Linked DNA regions of Homo sapiens: region 1 is linked to region 2. Evidence: promoter capture Hi-C in 16 types of primary human blood cells and fetal thymus (Javierre and others, 2016). All regions are on one chromosome and are shown on one strand. Each heading gives the region's core, a stretch centred on a gene start or on the middle of the fragment in contact. The rest is flanking DNA. Distances are from core to core; before and after follow the strand shown. Region 1 holds the start of ABRAXAS2 (abraxas 2, BRISC complex subunit). Region 2 holds the start of FAM53B-AS1 (FAM53B antisense RNA 1).

What was found. The method cuts DNA at HindIII sites, captures the fragments that hold promoters and counts their contacts. A CHiCAGO score of 5 or more calls a contact.
Region 1: a contact is called between the fragment with the promoter of ABRAXAS2 here and the fragment with the promoter of FAM53B-AS1 in region 2, in 5 of 17 cell types (activated CD4 T cells, naive CD8 T cells, total B cells and 2 more). The highest score is 9.3, in activated CD4 T cells.

The regions. Positions count from the first base shown.
Region 1 is chr10:124,800,557-124,803,280 of GRCh38, forward strand. It overlaps ABRAXAS2 (abraxas 2, BRISC complex subunit), which reads left to right and starts at 1,263. Exons shown (of 9, transcript NM_032182.4): 1 at 1,263-1,345. The coding sequence starts at 1,274. RefSeq lists enhancers at 862-1,416, 1,089-1,358, 1,417-1,970 and a silencer at 1,459-1,538. The HindIII fragment of the contact is 5,454 bases long and covers 707-2,724 here.
Region 2 is chr10:124,702,412-124,705,332 of GRCh38, forward strand. FAM53B-AS1 (FAM53B antisense RNA 1) reads left to right here and starts at 1,617. Exons shown (of 2, transcript NR_120631.1): 1 at 1,617-1,920. All of the region lies in intron 2 of FAM53B (family with sequence similarity 53 member B), which reads right to left. RefSeq lists an enhancer at 2,819-2,921. The HindIII fragment of the contact is 3,544 bases long and covers 596-2,921 here.

The DNA.
Region 1 (2,724 bases), core at 13-2,512, 98 kb after region 2:
ATTACCTTGTGAAATTCCTTCTCCTGGCTTAGAAGCTCCCCGACTGAGCACCTTGTAACCCCCGCCCCTTCCCACCAGAGAACAACCCCCTTTGACTGTAATTTTCCACTACCTACCCAAATCCTATAAATCGGCCCCACCCCTATCTCCCTTGCTGACTCTCTTTTCGGACTCAGCCCGCCTGCACCCAGTTGAAATAAACAGCCTTGTTGCTCACACAAAGCCTGTTTGGTGGTCTCTTCACACAAACGCGCATAACACTCCTGACCTCAGGTTAACACTCCCCACACACGCCCCCCCCTCCCAAAGTGCTGGGATTACAGGCATGAGCCACCGCGCCCGGCCTCAAATGTTGGCTTTTTGTTTTGTTTTGTTTTTGAGACGGAGTCTTGGTCTGTCACCCAGGCTGGAGTGCAGTGGCGCGATCTCGGCTCACTGCAAGCTCCGCCTTCCAGGTTCACGCCATTCTCCTGCCTCAGCCTCCTGAGTAGCTGGGACTACAGGAGCCCGCCACCACGTCCGGCTAATTTTTTGTATTTTTAGTAGAGACGGGGTTTCACCGTGTAAGCCAGGATGGTCTCAAACTCCTGACCTCGTGATCCGCCCACCTCGGCCTCCCAAAGTGCTGGGATTACAGGCGCGAGCCACCACGCTCAGCCTAAATGTTGGCCTTTTTTTTTTTTTTTTTTTTTTTTTTTTGAGACGAAGCTTCGCTCTTGCTGCCCAGGCTGGAGTGCAATGGCACGATCTCGACTCACCGCAACCTCCGCCTCCCGGGTTCAAGCCATTCCCCTCCCTCAGCCTCCCGAGTAGCTGAGATTACAGGCATGTGCCACCACGCCCGGCTAGTTTTTGTATTTTCAATATAGACAGGGTTTCTCCATGTTGGTCAGGCTGGTCTCGAACTCCTGACCTCAGGTGATCCGCCCGCCTCGGCCTCCCAAAGTGCTGGGATTACAGGCGTGAGCCACTGCGCCCGGCTAGAATGTTGTCTTTTAATACTAAGGTTTCACTTGCAAAGGGAAAGAACTGTTTGCGGAACTATCAACCGCTGTCTGAGGCGTGTCGGGAGCGACACCCCTGCGGAGGATACGGTGCCGGGGTCCTTCCGATCGCAAAAACCGGCGTTCCTCAGCCTTCAAGACTGTGAGCGCTCAGGGCCCTCGGCCGCTGCCCGCCGCAGACTCCACTTCCCATGATGCCAAGGGGTCGGGCCGTCCGGAAGGCCGTGTGCCCTCCGCGGGGCATGATGGGGTAGCTGGAGATTTCCATCATGGCGGCGTCCATTTCGGGCTACACCTTCAGTGCTGTGTGTTTCCACAGCGCCAACAGCAACGCGGACCACGTAGGTGCCGGGCCCCCTGCCGCGCCCGCTGGGGGCTTTCAGCCTCTGTCTCAGGCCGGCGCTCGCGGCCAAGCCGGGACCTCATGCGGCTCGCCCCCTGGGCACCAGGGCCGGCCGGAGGAGCTGGTGACCCGGGCGGCTCCCGCCCCCGGTGAGCTCTTGCCTCTGGGGGCTCCTTCGCCCCTGGGACAGGCCCCCTGGCTTCGCGCTCTCAGCCGCTCGGCCGTCCCGGCACAGCCGTCTCCCGTGCAGCAAAACTGTCCCACCTGGCCTCCTGCAGTGTCAGGAGTCGCTCGGTGGAAACCGAGCGCCTGCCCCTCCCTGAAAGTCAGGCTTCTAGACTTAAGAGGGGCGCACGGGGTCGGGAAGGAATCTAAAGGCCGGGCGTTTAGTCCAGTAGGCGAGGTACTCAGCCCCGCCCGCCGGTCTCGCAGGTTGTCGTGGGGGTGCTGCGAGTGAAACCGTGGCTGTCACTACTGATACTTGTTAGACACGGTTGTGTGTTTTCTTCGCCCTGATGCAAAATGGAGAATGTATACAGGAGCGTTCGGTGCAGGGTCTATTTTGTATTTCCTTGAAGTTGCGTGTTTAGTTCTTTGTGACTAGTTCTTTCACTAGTCACAGTGAAATAGGGAAGTGACAGGCCCACTACTGAGTGATGGGAAATGCATAGGCTGTGAGCCCACAGGAGGAGCAGATCCTGTCTGTTTCAGTGTCTTTATTTTACAAATTGTCTTTTAACGTCATTGGCCTCTGATTGGAAATGCTTTGTGAAACTAGATCACTTCTCTCTTAAAGGAGGTATATAATTTGGCCACCAAATTGGGGGATTATTTTAAGTGATGTTAATAGTGAATGATTCAAACTCATTAAACCTATGTGTGGGGTTTTTGGTTGTCATTACAAAGCAAAATGGTACACTGCAGAAGGAGGAACTGCATTTGGTTTGATGTCAGCAATCTTAGCTTCCATTAATAAAAACTGATTTCACAGGGAGGTGATTCCATTAGTAAATTGAATGCAATTAAATTATTGTACCTTTCATCTCTTCAGTGTTGATGGTAGAACTTAATGATAGGAATAGGAATATATACATCATGGGTTTTTCCAGAAGCAGCTTTGAAGACTATGGCCTAGGGTACTACAACCAGCTATTTAATAATGTAATATAGTTCCATATGTAAGGGTTTGTGATACCCCTAGTGTCCATGGACTATTAAAAATGGGTCCTTTATTTCTTGAATGCCTACTAATATCACAGTTTATGTATATGGCAAGATTACTGTAAGAACAAGCAGCTACCTGTTGAAAAAAATTAATTCAAGAGATATCCCTTAATATCTACTCTGCAAGGCGTGGTGCTTGACTTCATAGAAATT
Region 2 (2,921 bases), core at 367-2,866:
TATCTCACATTCTGTCCCGTGGATGTCATCACTAGACTAAGATTATTTTCAGTATTTCTTCAGTTATTTACATCGTGTGTCTCTCCCCAAGGCCTGGAGGGGCTCCAAGGCGATCACAGCCTCTGGAACAGGGCCCATGCGAGAAGGTGCTGGGGGAAGCAGACAAGGGCCTGGACTTGAAATCTGTGACCAGGGCAGCCCCTCCCTGGGCTCTCTGAGCCACAGTTTCCTTCCTGTATAATGGGGTAGAAATGGGTGCACCCCTGCCCCTCAGCAGGTGGCATGAGGCTCAAGGACAGGGAGGAGGTACCTGGACCTCTGGGCATACAGTTTGGATGTTCGTCCCCTCCAAATCTCATGTTGAAATGTAACCCCCAATGCTGGAGGCGGGGCCTGGTGGGGGGTGTTTGGGTCATGGGAGCGGATCCCTCATGAATGGCTTGGTGGCCTCCCCATGGTGATCAGGGAGTCCTCGCTCTTCTAGTTCATGTGAGGGCTGGTAGTTTAACAGGTCTGGCACCTCCTCCCTTCCCTCTTGCTCCCTCTCTCACCTCGTGACACACTTATTCTCCCCTCACCTTCTGCCATGACTGGAAGCTTCGTGAGGCCTTACTAGAAACAGATGCAGGTGCCATACTTTTTTTTTTGGAGACACAGTCTCACTCTGTCGCCCAGGCTGGAGTGCGGTAGTGCTGTGATATCGGCTCACTGCAAGCTCCGCCTCCCAGGTTCGAGCCATTCTCCTGCCTCAGCCTCCCAAGTAGCTGGGACTACAGGCGCCCGCCTGCCACCACACTCAGCTAATTTTTTGTATTTTTAGCAGAGACGGGGCTTCACCATATTAGCCAGGATGGTCTTGATCTCCTGACCTCGTGATCCGCCCTCTTCAGCCTCCCAAAGTGCTGGGATTACCGGCGTGAGCCACCATGCCTGGCCGGTGCCATACTTCTTATACAGCCTGCAGAACCATAAGCCAAGTAAATCTCTTTTCTTTATAAATTACCCAGCCTCAGGTATTCCTCATAGCAACATGATATGAACTAACACACTTCCCAAGACCCTCAGTGTAGCTGCACCTCCAACACCTTCCTGCTGGCCCACGCTATAGCGCAGGCAGCGCTGAGCCAGGCCGGGCCAGGCACTGACGCCCAGTCAATGTGTTCTGGGCGCATAAGCAAACTGAGCAATGAGAAAGCCCATCTCCAACAGGGCTGCTCCCCACAACAGACCTCTCATCTGGAGCCAAGGGGAGAGAAGAGGAGGAGGAAGACCACAGATGGACCCAAAGCACTGCACACTGGGTGGTTCTGGGCCCGGACAGGCCAGTAACAAAAAGCAGCAGAAAGAAGGATACTTTCCAACAAAGCAAGGAGAGTTCAGGAAGAAAGCACAGATTCTAATCTGTGTGGCCACAAGAGAACACATGGTAGAATCCCTTCCAGCAAAGCCGCCTGCTCTCCCCTGACTGCTTTCCCTTTCTGAGATGAGTTTTCCTTCCCTGGCCAGGGCTGGGAGGCCGTGCTCCTCCTGGCAGGGGCTCAGGCCACACCTCTTGGAAGAGCAGCTCAGCTGACCTTGGGCCCACATGTCCTGGAACCAACTCTGAAGCCAACACCAGGCAGTCCCACCCTGAGAAGGGACCAAGCACAGAGGCGGCCACTGCAGCCAACTGCACAGCTGGACCCGGGTAGGGCTCCTCCCTCGGGACCTCCAGATGGCTCCTCACCCTTGAGGTCCCTTCTTTTTGGTCAGAGCTACTCTAGTCGCACCCACTCAGTCGTGAACTGGAGCAGCAGCCAGAGAGAGAGTAAGACAATGGTGAATGAGAAGAGGCCAGGTGACAGGAACCTGCAAGCTCATCCATCCACAAACATCCACTGAGCACCTGCCACGGGCTGGGCCCCGTGCATTCAACAACAAGTAAGAGAGACATCCTCTGCTTTCTCAAAGCTCCCATTCTAGTATAAGGACTCGGTCAAGATCCACAGGGACATGTTTAAAAGTGCTAAGTGCCCAAGAGGGAAAAAGGAAAAGAGGAGAGAAAGTGTGGTGGGGGTAAGGGGTGGGCGCTGGCGCTGGGACTGAACTGTAGGTTGAGTAGCCAGAGAAGGAAGGAGGGAGGGAGTATGTCCTACTGTGGGGAGAGGGCTCCAGGCCAAGGAAAAAGTGCAAAGGCCTGAGGCAGGCTCACGCTTGGCATATTGGAATAGGGAGGCCAGTGGGGACCGAGCAGAGGGGGCAGAGTGGCAGAGATGAGGTCAAAGCAGTCACATGGACAAGAATATATGGGGCCATGTACATCCTAGTAAGGGCTGGGTGTTTGCTAAGCATTCAGTGTAAAGCCAGTGGAAGCTGCTACACAGAGAAGGACAGCTCTGACTGGGATTCTCTCTGGCTGCTGGGTGGAGAACAGGTTAAAAAGAGCCAGAGGCAGGGGACCAGTTACCACAAGAATCCTTGCGAGAGAACAGCAGGTGGAACCAGGGTGGTGGCAGCGGGGCTGGTGAGAAGTAATCACATCACACAGCAAATGTGAACTGGAAAGGATGGGGTGGTAGCAGAAGAGCTGAATGGTCACAGCAGCTCTACTCCTCGCTGCAGTGACCAAGGCTGCCATCGAGCAAACACACCTCAGGTGCCTGCTGTCTGCCCTGCCTCAGTAGTGCTGGGGACATGGGGAGGAGCAAAGCTGAGTCCCTATCCTTGCAGCTGGGGGTGACACCCCATGGAGACCTCACAGGCTGAGGCCCATGAGCAGAGTGGCACCAGTGTCACATCTGGTAAGGGCTGAAGAGACCTGACTGAGGGAGGGCCACCAAGACTGGCGTCCAGACACCAGGCAACAGGCAGAGGCCTGAATGCAGGCCCAGGAAGTGGGGCTAGAGGGGCAGGAGGGAAGGCGGAGGCGGAGCCAGTGAGGC